3 separate regions of the Homo sapiens genome follow, and all the other regions are linked to region 1. The links are contacts of gene promoters, found by promoter capture Hi-C in blood cells and fetal thymus (Javierre and others, 2016). All regions are on one chromosome and are shown on one strand. Each heading gives the region's core, a stretch centred on a gene start or on the middle of the fragment in contact. The rest is flanking DNA. Distances are from core to core; before and after follow the strand shown.

What was found. Contacts are between HindIII fragments. The CHiCAGO score rates a contact against its expected background, and 5 or more counts as called.
Region 2: a contact is called between a fragment that was not itself captured here and the fragment with the promoter of CYP4F11 in region 1, in 1 of 17 cell types (M2 macrophages). The highest score is 6.6, in M2 macrophages.
Region 3: a contact is called between a fragment that was not itself captured here and the fragment with the promoter of CYP4F11 in region 1, in 1 of 17 cell types (M0 macrophages). The highest score is 5.6, in M0 macrophages.

What each region holds. Positions count from the first base shown.
Region 1 is chr19:15,931,529-15,936,435 of GRCh38, reverse strand. It overlaps CYP4F11 (cytochrome P450 family 4 subfamily F member 11), which reads left to right and starts at 1,907. Exons shown (of 12, transcript NM_021187.4): 1 at 1,907-2,225. The coding sequence starts at 2,028. The HindIII fragment of the contact is 9,699 bases long and covers 1-4,907 here.
Region 2 is chr19:14,899,266-14,904,172 of GRCh38, reverse strand. It overlaps the pseudogene OR7A3P. Among named protein-coding and RNA genes, the nearest start is that of OR7A17, 16 kb to the right of the region's middle. The HindIII fragment of the contact is 776 bases long and covers 2,040-2,815 here.
Region 3 is chr19:14,925,872-14,930,778 of GRCh38, reverse strand. It overlaps the pseudogene OR7A15P. Among named protein-coding and RNA genes, the nearest start is that of OR7C2, 13 kb to the left of the region's middle. The HindIII fragment of the contact is 592 bases long and covers 1,650-2,241 here.

The DNA.
Region 1 (4,907 bases), core at 658-3,157:
AGCACTTGACACACAGAAAAAACACTTTATATAGAGCATCTGGCACACAGTAGGTGTGCATTATGTAGAGTACCGGCCACACAGAGTCAGAGTTTATGAAGAGTACCCAGCATCCAGAGTAGGCACGCTTTATGTAGAGCACTTGACACACAGAAAGAACACTTTATGTAGAGCATCTGGCATACAGTAGGTGTGCTTTATGTAGAGTACCGGACACATGGAGTCACAGTTTATGAAGAGTACCCAGCACCCAGAGTAGGCACGCTTTATGTAGAGCACTTGACACACAGTAGGTGCACTTGACATAGATCACCAGGCACGTAGTAAACATGCTCTACATAGAACATCTGACACACAGTAGGTGTGTTTTATATAGAGCAGCAGGTGCAGAGTAGGTACACTTTACATAAGTTACTCCGCACAAATTTCACTTTATATAGAGGACCGAGAACAAAGAAGCAAGATTTTCTGTAGAGCGCCCAGCACACAGTGGACACACTTTTCATAGAGCACTTGGCACACAGTACACAACATGTATACAGAGTACCTGGCACATGGTAGGTGTGCTTTATTTAGAGTCCAGTACACAGTAAAAGAACTTTGCATATTGTCTTTTGCAAAGAGCAGAGACTGACACACAGCAGCTAAAGTGCTAGCTGCCAGCCCCTTCCCTTCACTCCCTCCTCAGAATCTTTCATCTGTCCCCATCTAAGGCCCATTTTCCTGTGATCCCTCCTCTGTCCCCCTCTAAGGCCTTATCTGACATCCCATTTCCCAGATGGGAAGCCTGAGTCCAGGAGGGGCTCACTACCCACAGTTAGGGCAAGGGGAGGGCAGAATAAGGACTCCACTCAGGGTCCCCCATCTCTGCCCTCCTGTCCCTGGCCCCATCCACTCATGGCCCCTCTCAGCCTTACCTCCCATCTCCCCTCTCTGTCCTCCTATGCTGAACCTAGCCTCCAGGTATTCTCCTCCAGCGGGGCTCTTTATCTCTAAAATCTGACCGGGTAATCCCCAGCACAGTTAGATAGTTTGTTCCTACTCCTGTCAGTCATGTCTCGACCCAGGCCCTGGGTTGCCTGGAGGCAGGACTTGAACTCCTGCCAGACTGTGAAGCCAGAGGCCAGGAGCTTCTGTCTCTGAATCTCCTAAGTCTGCACTGAGAAATGGTGCATGATGAACTCCTGGACCACATGTGGAGAGGAGCTCAGAACATGATCTGGCACAATGGTTGGCCTGGCCCCACTCTCTTGCCACCTGAACTCTCAAGTTCATGACTTTATCTGCCACACTCTTGCCTTGGAAGGGCAAGGTGGCTGTAAACTTTGGGGCTCAGAGTCACCTTTGACTCTTCCTCAAGATCCCCTCCCACTCAGGTGTGAGATGTTGAGACCTGCGGATCCTGTGCCCATGCTGTGTCACCCTGAGCTGGCTCCTCTGCACCCAGCTGGCCCTACGCCAGGTTTTGGTTGGTTGCCCAGGCTTGGAAGACACACCCAGTCCATGGGGATTGGCTCGACCAGCCCAGCCCAGCCTCGCCTCCCACAGCCTTCCGGAAATCAGGGGCCAGAGGCAAAGACCTCCTAGCAGAGGGGGAGAGGAGGGTATGTGGGACAAGCTGCTTCTGATAGGAGCCAGGCTGGCAGTGGCAGGGCTGGAGGGTCCTGGCCTGGGATGGGGAGGGGACTGCCCAAGGTTGGGGTGGGTCAAGGCTGCTGGCCTGGGAGACTGGTGATTTCCTGGTAACTGGACCCCTGGCAACCTCCCAGTGATTCAGGCTGGGCCTTTTTGGATTCTAATCAGCCTCTCTCTCTCTTTCCCTTTCTGTGTAACTGGAGGCCACTTGGCTGCTGGTTTTCATTGGGCATTTCTGGACTTTAGATCTCAGCTCTTGTTTACCCATCTCAGAGCCTTCCCTGATCTGCCTCCAGCACTGCCCATCCTTGCCCCTTTCCACTGTCCTTGGAGCTTCCTGGGCCCTTCCCTGGGCCTCAGGATCCCACCCTCCATCCCGTCTGCCCTGCAGGATGCCGCAGCTGAGCCTGTCCTGGCTGGGCCTCGGGCCCGTGGCAGCATCCCCGTGGCTGCTTCTGCTGCTGGTTGGAGGCTCCTGGCTCCTGGCCCGCGTCCTGGCCTGGACCTACACCTTCTATGACAACTGCCGCCGCCTCCAGTGTTTTCCTCAACCCCCGAAACAGAACTGGTTTTGGGGACACCAGGGCCTGGTGAGTTTGTCAGCAGGACGGGTCTGGGGTCTCAGGATGCATGGAGTTCCTGAGGGGCAGGAATGGGGCTCAGGGAGCTGGGTTTTGAGGGTGGCTGGGGTGTGGGAACACAGAGAAGAGAGGGAGGCAGCTCACTCATTCCTCTGCCCACTCACTCATTCCTCTCCCCGCTCACTCATTCCTCTGCCCACTCACTCATTCCTCTGCCCACTCACTCATTCCTCTCCCCGCTCACTCATTCCTCTCCCCGCTCACTCATTCCTCTCCCCGCTCACTCATTCCTCTCCCCGCTCACTCATTCCTCTGCCCACTCACTCATTCCTCTTCTCGCTCACTCATTCCTCTGCTCACTCACTCATTCCTCTCCTCACTCACTCATTCTTCTCCTCACTCACTCATTCTTCTCCTCACTCACTCATTCCTCTGCTCACTCACTCATTCCTCTCCTCACTCACTCATTCTTCTCCTCACTCACTCATTCCTCTCCTCACTCACTCATTCTTCTCCTCACTCACTCATTCTTCTCCTCACTCACTCATTCCTCTCCTCACTCACTCATTCTTCTCCTCACTCACTCATTCCTCTCCTCACTCACTCATTCTTCTCCTCACTCACTCATTCTTCTCCTCACTCACTCATTCCTCTCCTCACTCACTCATTCTTCTCCTCACTCACTCATTCCTCTCCTCACTCACTCATTCTTCTCCTCACTCACTCATTCCTCTCCTCACTCACTCATTCTTCTCCTCACTCACTCATTCCTCTCCTCACTCACTCATTCTTCTCCTCACTCACTCATTCCTCTCCTCACTCACTCATTCCTCTCCTCACTCACTCATTCCTCTCCTCACTCACTCATTCTTCTCCTCACTCACTCATTCTTCTCCTCACTCACTCATTCCTCTCCTCACTCACTCATTCCTCTCCTCACTCACTCATTCCTCTCCTCGCTCACTCATTCCTCTCCCCGCTCACTCATTCCTCTCCTCACTCACTCATTCCTCTCCTCACTCACTCATTCCTCTCCTCACTCACTCATTCCTCTCCCCACTCACTCATTCCTCTCCCCGCTCACTCATTCCTCTCCTCGCTCACTCATTCCTCTCCTCACTCACTCATTCTTCTCCTCACTCACTCATTCCTCTCCTCACTCACTCATTCCTCTCCTCACTCACTCATTCCTCTCCTCACTCACTCATTCCTCTCCTCACTCACTCATTCCTCTCCTCACTCACTCATTCCTCTCCTCACTCACTCATTCTTCTCCTCACTCACTCATTCCTCTCCTCACTCACTCATTCCTCTCCTCACTCACTCATTCCTCTCCTCACTCACTCATTCCTCTCCTCACTCACTCATTCCTCTCCTCACTCACTCATTCCTCTCCTCACTCACTCATTCCTCTCCTCACTCACTCATTCCTCTCCTCACTCACTCATTCCTCTCCTCACTCACTCATTCCTCTCCTCACTCACTCATTCCTCTCCTCACTCACTCATTCCTCTCCTCACTCACTCATTCCTCTCCTCACTCACTCATTCCTCTCCTCACTCACTCATTCCTCTCCTCACTCACTCATTCCTCTCCTCACTCACTCATTCCTCTCCTCACTCACTCATTCCTCTCCTCACTCACTCATTCCTCTCCTCACTCACTCATTCTTCTCCTCACTCACTCATTCTTCTCCTCACTCACTCATTCCTCTCCTCACTCACTCATTCCTCTCCTCACTCACTCATTCCTCTCCCCGCTCACTCATTCCTCTCCCCGCTCACTCATTCCTCTCCTCGCTCACTCATTCCTCTCCTCACTCACTCATTCCTCTCCCCGCTCACTCATTCCTCTCCCCGCTCACTCATTCCTCTCCTCGCTCACTCATTCCTCTCCTCGCTCACTCATTCCTCTCCTCGCTCACTCATTCCTCTCCTCACTCACTCATTCCTCTCCCCACTCACTCATTCCTCTCCCCGCTCACTCATTCCTCTCCTCGCTCACTCATTCCTCTCCTCGCTCACTCATTCCTCTCCTCACTCACTCATTCCTCTCCTCACTCACTCATTCTTCTCCTCACTCACTCATTCCTCTCCTCACTCACTCATTCTTCTCCTCACTCACTCATTCCTCTCCTCACTCACTCATTCTTCTCCTCACTCACTCATTCCTCTCCTCACTCACTCATTCTTCTCCTCACTCACTCATTCCTCTCCTCACTCACTCATTCCTCTCCTCACTCACTCATTCCTCTCCTCACTCACTCATTCCTCTCCTCACTCACTCATTCCTCTCCTCACTCACTCATTCCTCTCCTCACTCACTCATTCCTCTCCTCACTCACTCATTCCTCTCCTCACTCACTCATTCCTCTCCTCACTCACTCATTCCTCTCCTCACTCACTCATTCCTCTCCTCACTCACTCATTCCTCTCCTCACTCACTCATTCCTCTCCTCACTCACTCATTCCTCTCCTCACTCACTCATTCCTCTCCTCGCTCACTCATTCCTCTCCTCGCTCACTCATTCCTCTCCTCGCTCACTCATTCCTCTCCTCGCTCACTCATTCCTCTCCTCGCTCACTCATTCCTCTCCTCGCTCACTCATTCCTCTCCTCACTCACTCATTCCTCTCCTCGCTCACTCATTCCTCTCCTCGCTCACTCATTCCTCTCCCCGCTCACTCATTCC
Region 2 (4,907 bases), core at 1,178-3,677, 1.0 Mb after region 1:
TGGAACCAGAGAATGGTACGAGGATTTTAGGATTTCTTCTTCTGGGACTTTCAGAGGAACCAGAATTGCAGCCCGTTATGTTTGGACTCTTCCTCTCCATGTATCTGACAACTGTGTTTGGAAACCTGCTCATCATCCTGGCCATCTGCTCTGGTTCCCACCTCCACACCCCCATGTACTTCTTCCTCTCTAACCTGTCCTTTGTAGACATCTGTGTTACCTCCACCACAGTCCCAAAGACACTGTCAAACATCCGGACACAGAGTAAAGTCATCACCTATGCAGGTTGCATCACCCAGATGTACTTTTTTGTACTCTTTATAGTGTTGGACAGCTTACTCTTGACCGTGATGGCCTATGACCAGTTTGTGGCCATCTGTCACCCCCTGCACTACACGGTCATCGTGAACCCTCGGCTCTGTGGACTGCTGGTTCTGGCGTCCTGGATCATGAGTGCCCTGAATTCCTTGATAGAAAGCTTAATGGTGTTGCCACTGCTCTTTTGTACAGACTTGAAAATCCCCCACTTTTTCTGTGAACTTAATCAGATAATCCGCAGTGCCTGTTCTGACACCTTTCTTAATGACATGGTGATGTATTTGTCAGCTGTGCTTCTAGGTAGGGGATGTTTCACTGGGATCCTGTACTCTTACTTTAAGACAGTTTCCTCCATACGTGCAATCTCATCAGCTCAGGGGAAGTACAAGGCATTTTCCACCTGTGCATCGCACCTCTCAGTTGTCTCCTTATTTTATTGTATGAGCCTTGGGGTGTACCTTAGTGCTGCTGCAACCCACAACTCACTCTCAAGTGCAACAGCCTCTGATGTACACTGTGGTCACCCCCATGCTGAACCCCTTCATCTACAGTCTGAGGAATAAAGACATAAAGGGGGCTCTAAAACAATTCTTCAGAAGGAAGAAATAAAATGAGCATCTTTCAAGAAGTACATGTGATTTCAAAGCTCTAACCGAACTCAAACATTGTGATTCACGAATCAGATCATGGAAGGAGGGAAAGAGAATGTTCTGCTTCTATTCAGTTTCTAGAGTTTTAATTTCCTTGTTCTCAAGTGCTGTGTCAGACTTATGCTATTTCTTTAGAAAGCTTTCTGCTCTGATATCCAACTTACTTTTTGTTTGTCATTTTCCTAATTTCCCATAGTTATTTCCAAACTAGGGTAAAACACTTTTGGAGATTCCTATTTGTCTAATACACTAGAGAGTTGTATCAGTCCTAAAAAATCAATTGCACTTGGCAAATGTAAGGTCATTGGTATAATCATATTATAGATGAATATCTGAGATCACAGTTTTTTACTTCTGAGTCCTTCATTTCTTACTACCTTTACTGTTCTTCCTGATTATGTAAACTTGACCATGCTGGTGTGTTTATAATCATCATGGCATTTTATTCTCCTCATTAGGATCCTGTCTGCTATCCAGCTCAGTGTCTACACTGCCTACTATATTCCCTGGTAAAGAGGAGGAAGGCGAATATTACTTATAACATACATGTTCCTAGTGTAGTCTACACAGAAAGACACATTTGCATGAATCAATTGACTTCATATGGCCTCAGATTCAGAGACGACCTTAAATATGATGGACTAAAATTTTCAGTCATGCAGTGATTATCGTGGAAGATTTGTTTTTGATGGTGTGTGATATGGTTTGTCTGTGTCTCCACCCAAATCTCACCTTGATTGTAGCTCCCATAATTTCCTTGTGTCATGGGAGGGACCCGGTGGGAGGTAATTGAATCATTGGGGCAGGTCTTTCCCATGCTGTTCACATGGCAGTGAATAAGTCTCATGAGATCTGATGGTTTTATAAAGGGGAGTTCCCCTGCATATGCTCTCTTGCCCGCCGCCATGCAAGACATGCCTTTGGCCTTCTGCTGTGATTGTGAGGCCTCCCCAGCCACGTGGAACTGTGAGTCCATTAAACTTCTTTTTCTTTATAAATTACCCAGTCTTGGGTATGTCTTTATCAGCAGTGTGAAAACGGACTAATACAACTCATTAAAGGGTGGAAGCTTGTTGTCCATGGGTAATGAGGTTTGTTCATTTAGGTAAAGGATTTGGTGTCATGATCTACATTATTTGATTGCATCATCTTTCTGTTTCTGATTAAAAGTTTCCAGTGCTACAAATATGACTTCTTGCATTGTTCTAAAACTATCACTCCCTTTAATAAATTATGTCACAAGCATTAAACTGGAGGTAAGTGAAGGATATGTGTATTTACTGTATCATCACTTGCTTTATCTCTTTTATACTCCAAACTCTCTAATGATGACTCACATAAGAGCTTGAATTTCTTCCCAGTATTGCATGTGAGATTAGAGACTTGAGATTCCAGGTTGCAATTTGTTTCAGCAAAAATATACATGTCCTGCCAAACTCTTCTGGTTACCTAGAGGAAATCTAAAAGTAGTCATCCTATGATACAGTTATGTGAAGTAAATATAAATATCCATATAATTATGAACACTGCTTTCTGATATCAGAAAAAGCACCAAAAAAAAAGAGCCAACAGAATATTCTGTATACAGTGAATCCAATAAAAAACTAAAAAACAAAAGGATCTGACACCTAAAAAAAGATAATTCTGAATATCTTTAGTTATGTTGCTTTGATTATTGTATCAGTAATCTAATGTTGTGTAACAAAACATCCCAATAATAAATGATTTAAAGTCATGCTTTTAAAAAATCACATCAGAGTCTACATTGTGGAAGTTTTCTCATTGGGGATTAGGACATATATATCCTGGACAAGACAAAAATATTCAGCCATAGGACTATCCAAGCTTAATTAGCTCTTGAATGTTGGGCAGTAAGGACAATCTTTTTTTAACTTTTATTTTAGGTTCAGGGGTACATGTGCAGGTTTGCTATATAAGCCAACTGTTTGTTGTGAGGGTTTGGTGTACAGAGTATTTTGTCACCCGCTTAATAAGCATACCTGATACATAGTTTTTTTTATCCTAACCCTCCTACCACCCTCAACACTCAAGGAGGCCCCAGTATCTGTTGTTCCCCTCTTTGTGTCCATGTGTTCTCATTATTTAGCTCCCACTTGTAAATGAGAATATGTGGTATTTGGTTTTCTGTTCCTACGTTAGTTTGCTAAGAATTATGGCCTCCAGCTCCAACCACGTTGTTGCAAAGGACACAGTCTCATTCTTTTTGATGACTCTGTAGTATTCTATGTTGTATAGTACCACATCTTCTTTATTCGGTCTACTATTGATGGACATTCAGGTTGATTCCATGTCTTTGCTATTGTGAATAGTGCTGTGATGAACATATGTATGCATATGTCTTTATAGTAGAATGATTTACATTCCTTTGGGTATATATCCAATAATAGAATTTCTGAGTGAAGTGGTAATCCTGTTTTAAGGTCTTTGAGAACTGTGAAACTGCTTTCCACAATGGCTGAACTAATCTACATTCCCAAAAGCAGTGTGGAAGTATTTCCTTTTCTCCAGACTCTCACCAGCATTTGTTATTATTGGACTTTTAAATAATAGAGCAAGGACAATTTGAAAGAGGAAGAGCAACAGAAGTGGTGTCATCTCACAATGCCTCTTACAGCTTCTTCTCACAGATTGAACATCTCATGACCACTCACATCCTATCAGACAAAGAATGTCTCAATCATCGTAGGTGTTACACTTCTCCCAGTTGAGGCATCATCAAAATCCAGAGCCAAAGGTGGAGAAGACTGATCCTCCTAAAGGCAACATAGAAAGGCAACACAAAAATACAGAAAGAGGTGTCTAATTATCTAAGAGTTAATAAATAAGTGGAAAATAATTATCTACTGGGAGAAAAACAGACATGCAAGCATTTTATACTTCAGTATACATTAAATATGTATGAATTACATGCTATCACCTAGAAGCCAGGAAGATAAGATTTCCATGAAGAGTTGGAGGAGCTCCTAGAAGATTAGGTGGATAATTTGATACACTAAGAAACATCAGCTTTACAGATATTCTCAAAAGTAGAAGATAGTTAAAGAGTCAGACATATCTACTGTGAGTATTTGGAGCCAGCATGAGGGTGACAGAGACAATGATGAATGATTTTATGTCAACAAAGCATAGAATGATAGACTCTCAGGCACTCTCCTCCTTGTGCAGGGCCCTGGAAGGAGGTCTCCCTTCATGATCACAACTTGCTGTCTCCTCAAAGCAGGACAGTGCTAGACTGTAGCAAGAAACCTTTCTGGTGTCACAATGAGCAGAGTAACTGGGAAACTAGGACATGGTCCAAATATCTGCTATCCATTGAACACCTGCTCTGCGCCAAGTAACTTCCAATGGGCTTTGAAGTCTTACTCCTTCTCACCTAAACTTCATAAGGTAAGTGGAACTTCTAGAAGTTTCATTTCCTGTCATTCCGTAAGTGTTCAAGACTTACGCGTAAGTAAACTCGATTATGCAAAAGCTGAGCTACCGAGTCCAACATTTGACCTCCTAAACCAGACATGAGGAGCAGGGTAGGATTCTTGGTAGAAAAAGCCTCAAAATATGTATACCTGCCTTTAACACTGACCACAGCCTCGATCCCCAAAGAGTGTTCCGCAGAACAGGATGAATAGCATCAACACCAACAGGAAAACTGTCAAAAGTATAAAATGTTGGGACCAGTCCTAGATGTCTGAAATTAGAATCGACATTTGAACAAGAACCCTAGGTGATTCATATATACAGTGAAATTAGGGAAGTTCTGGACTGGAATAGTCTCAGCCTCCCCAGTGTCCACATTTGTTTGCATTAATTCTTTCTGCTGTGGGCTGTCCTGTGCATTGTAGGTTGTTGGGCAGCTTCCCCGGCTTCAATCTACAATGTGCCAGTAAGTAGCACTTCCCCACATGTGACAACCAAAAGTGT
Region 3 (4,907 bases), core at 696-3,195, 1.0 Mb after region 1:
ATTAAAAGAAGTTAATCACTTATGTATTTAGATGAATGCACACTTACACATAGACATATAGCTTAGAAGGTATATAAACTCTGGAAGACTTTGTAATTTTTGAGTTGATCCAGTGGTAATTTCCAGGCCTTCTCCCTGTAACCAGTTACAGAAATAAAAACTCTTTTCCTCCCTAGTTCATCTGCATCTCATTAATGGGCCATGAGAATAAGCAGCCTGACCCTTGCTTTGGTCTGGGAACAACCTGGGCTCAAGTGATCCTCCTGCCTCAACCTCCCAAAATGCTGACATTTTAGGCATGAGCCACTATGCATGGCTAGGACTGATTTTTAAAGCCCAAATAAAATACCATTAAAACAGTTCCAGAAAATAAGAATAGTGAGACACAGCATCCCCTCTGAGTGACAATTTTCTGCCTGAAGGAATAATCAACAAGATGAGATCTTTCTCACCAGATGGGAAGACCTACTATAGGGTTTACAATGCTCATGTGTTCAAGTGATGAAACATTCATCTGGTCAGTGCCTTATTCCTGGGCGAACCTCTCACTTTTCTTCTTTATAGTAAGTCATTCCTTATTTGCAGGGGATTGGTTTCAGGACACCCTGCATATAACAAAATCCACTGATGCTGAAGTCCCTTATATAAAATGGCATAGTATTTGCATATTAGCTATGCACATTCTCCTGTATACTTTAAATCATTTCTAGAGTACTTATAATACTGAACACAGTGTAAATGCTCTGTAAATAGTTGTTATACTTTATTTAAAAATTTGTATTATTTTTATTGTTGTATTGTGATTTTTAATTTTTTTAAAAAACAATTATATATTTATTTATATATTTTAAATAAAAAGAAAGAAATGGAGATATATGAACTTTCTGACAAAGAATTCAAAAATAATTGTTTTAAGGAAGTGCAGCAAACTTTAAGAAAATACAGAGAAACAATTCACCAAAATCAGAAAGACAATAAATGAACAAAATTTGAAATTTAACAGAGAGATTGAAATTATAAAAAAACTCTAGAAATTCTCAAGATGAAAAATACAATGAATGAAATGAAAAATGCAATCTAGAGTGTCAACAGCAGGATTGATAAAGCAGAAGAAATAAAGCAGAAGAAATAATCTATGAACTTGAAGACAGATTATTAGAAAACATACACTCAGAGGAGAAAAACAGAATAAAAAGGAGTGAAGAAAACTTATGGGATTTTATGGGGCAGCATAAGGAGGGTAAATATTTGAATTAACAGGAATCAAGAAAGAGAAGGAATGAACAAAGAGACAGAAAGCTTATCAAAAAAATAACTGAAAACTTTCCAACTTTCAGGAAAGATATAAATATCCAGATATCAACAGAATAATCTTTGATCATGAGGACTGAAAAGAATTTAGATTATAAAAGATGTAAAGGAATTGATGATCAAGTAAATACACATATTGTTCAATCATCTGTATTTTGTGTTATGATTACATTTGTTAAAGGGGGAAATATTTTTTGGACAATGTAAGTAGTCATATTTGTAGGTAACACTAGAATTTTCAAATAGAAACAGCAAGATGATACAATAAAATAATATAGACCATGACACCAAATCTTTCACTCAGATCAACAAACCTCATTACACATGAATAACAAGCTTCCACACTTCAATGAGTAGATGTACATCATTGAAAACAAACCTTCCATAGAAATTTAGTACATAATTGAAAATGTTACTCTATCATATTTAACGTCATCTCTAACTCTAAGTCCATGTAAAGCCAATTGATTTTTGCCAGTTTGTCTTTCTGTGTAGACTATGCTTGGAGCATTTATTTGATGAGCAACTTTTGACTAAGTACTCAGTGCCAGTAAATATAGTAGAATTCATGAATACTGAGTTCAAGAAGAGAACAGGATCCTAATGGGAGTGAAAAATCCCATAACCAGCTATAAAATACCCTAGTATGTTTAAGTCTACATTATCAGGAAGATCAATTAAGGTAGTGATACAGAAATGAATGACAAACACAAAAAGTGAAAAACCATAGCCTCAGAAATTCTTCTCCAATAAAATTACATAAATGGCCTCAGTGCCAAGCGTAGTTTATTCCATAGGAATAGTACAACTCATCACCCTATGAGGCAAATGGGAATCTCCAAATTGTTTCTGACCCAAGGTTGGGAATAACTTTGAGAAAGGAGGAAAACAAGGGGAAAATCTGTTGAATATTAGAGAGAGAGGAAAGCTTAATAATAGGAGTTGCTTAAATTTGATGAAGCAGTTGAGATAAAAGAAATGGAAACTTCAGGAAATAAATAGAGCAATTTCCAGCCCGGCGCAGTGGCTCACGCCTGTAATCCCAGCACTTTGGGAGGCAGAGGCGGTTGGATCACGAGGTCAGGAGATCAAGACCATCCTGGCTAACATAGTGAAACCCCGTCTCTACTGAAAATACAAGAAATTAGCCGGGTGCGGTGGTGGGTGCCTGTAGTCCCAGCTACTCGGGAGGCTGAGGCAGCAGAATAGCATGAACCCAGGAGGTGGAGCTTGCAGTGAGCGGAGATGGCGCCACTGCACTCTGGCCTGGGCAGCAGAGCAAAACTCTGTCTCAAAAAAAAAAAAAAAAAAAAAAAAGAGCAGTTTCCACTTCCATGATCTGATTAAACAACAGCAATATCTGGCTCTGAGGCTTTGAGCCTTGCAATCATGGATATAGCTTCAGCCCTAGGACAACTGGCCCTTTTCTAGTTTCCCTCCCAAAGAATTCTTCAGAGCCCTCTTTATGTCCTTATTCCTCAGGCTGTAGATGAAGGGGTTCAGCATGGGGGTGACCACAGTGTACCTCACTGAGGCTATTGCACCTGAGTGTGAGTTGTGGGATGCAGCCGAGCTAAGGTACACTCCTAGGCTTGTACAGTAAAACAAGGAGACAACTGAGAGGTGAGACGGACAGGTGGAAAATGCCTTATACTTCCCTTGAGCTGATGAGATTGCACATATGGAGGAAACTATCTTAGAGTAAGAGTAAAGGATCCCAGCGAGACATCCCCCCACCCAGCAGCACAGCTGCCAGATACATCACCATGTCATTAAGAAAGGTGTCAGAACAGGCAAGGTGGATGACCTGATTAAGTTCACAGAAAAAGTGGGGGATTTCCAACTCTCTGCATAAGGACAACTGCAGCACCATTAAGCTATGTAATAAGGAATGCAAGACACTTGTGATCCAGGATACCAGAACCAGCAATCCACAGAGTTGAGGGTTCATGATGACCGTGTAGTACAGGGGGTGACAGATGGCCACAAACCGGTCATAGGCCATCACAGTCAGGAGGAAGCTGTCCAATCCTACAAAATGTATGAAAAAGTACATCTGGGTGATGCAGCCTGCAGAGGTGATGACTTTGCTCTGTGCCTGGATATTCACCAGCATCTTTGGGACCCTGGTGGAGGCAAAACAGATGTCTACAAAGGACAGGTTGGAGAGAAAGAAGTACATGGAGGTGTGGAGGTGGGAGCATAAAATGATAACCAGGATGATAAGCAAGTTTCCAAATACAATGATGAGGTACATGGATAAGAACACTCCAAAGAGAAATCGTTATGCTCTGGTTTCTCTTCAAATTGTATAAATCTTTTGCCTTTTACCAAAGAGAAATCGTTGCAGTCTGGGTTCTTCTGAAAATCCCAGAAGTCGAAATTCTGAAATTCGTGTATCATTCTCTGGTTCCATGTGGTAGAGGTGACTATAAAAAAAAAAAAAAGAGAGAGAGAGAAAATACATGACATAAGCATGCTTTTTTCACCCATCAGAAAAGCTATTATTTATATCCTACAGTCAGCAAGTTAATTTCTATATTTTGTGTGTGAATCTGGTCTACTTTATGAGATCTCCCATCCCATCTCTGCTTAGGAATTCCTTTCCCATGATGCTCAACTTTTCCCCAAATGGTCATTTATTTAAAAACTTTGCCGGGTGCGGTGGCTCACACCTGTAATCCCAGCACTTTGGGAGGCAGAGGTGGGCGGGTCACCTGAGGTCGGGAGTTCAAGACCAGCCTGACCAACATGGAGAAAACCCATCTCTACTAAAAATACAAAGTTAGCCGGATGTGGTGGTGCGTGCCCGTAATCCCAGCTACTCGGGAGGTTGAGGCAGGAGAATCATTTGAACCTGAGAGGCAGAGGTTGCAGGGAGCCAAGATGGCGCCATTGCACTCCATCCAGCCTGGGCTACAAGAGCAAAACTCCATCTCAAACAAAACAAAACAAAACAAAACAAAAACCAATACTTTAATGATAAATTCTTTCATGGATTTGAGGAATTTAAATTGAGTGTTGTCAACGTTCCAGGCTCTGTCTAGACAATGAGTGAACAGTGCTGAAAAACAAAAGTTCCTACAGTGAAGTATGGAGAAGAATACAAGTAAATCATATACTGTGTCAGATGGTAACCAGGGCTAGCAAGAAAAAGAAAGAAGGTAAAAAGGCGAGGGTGGATAGAGGATGTTAATTTTCCTAGGTGTCCAGAGAATACTAGCAGTCAAGGTGATAGGTGCCCATCAATAGTGGATTGGACAAAGAAACTGTGGTACTTATACACCATGGAATACTAGGCAGCCATAAAAAAGAATGAAATCATGTCCTTTCCAGCTACATGGATGAAGCTAGAGGCCGTTATTCTGAGCGACCTAATGCAAGAACAGAAAACCAAATATCGCATGTTCTCACTTATAAATGGTAGCTAAACATCGAATATACGTGAACACAAAGATGGGAACAATTGACACTGGAGACCGCTGGACAGAGGATGGAGGGAGGGGGATGTGAGCTGAAGAACCATCTGTTGGGTCCTATGCTTACCTCCTGAGTGATGGGATTGTTAGGACCCGAAGCCTCAGCATCACACAATT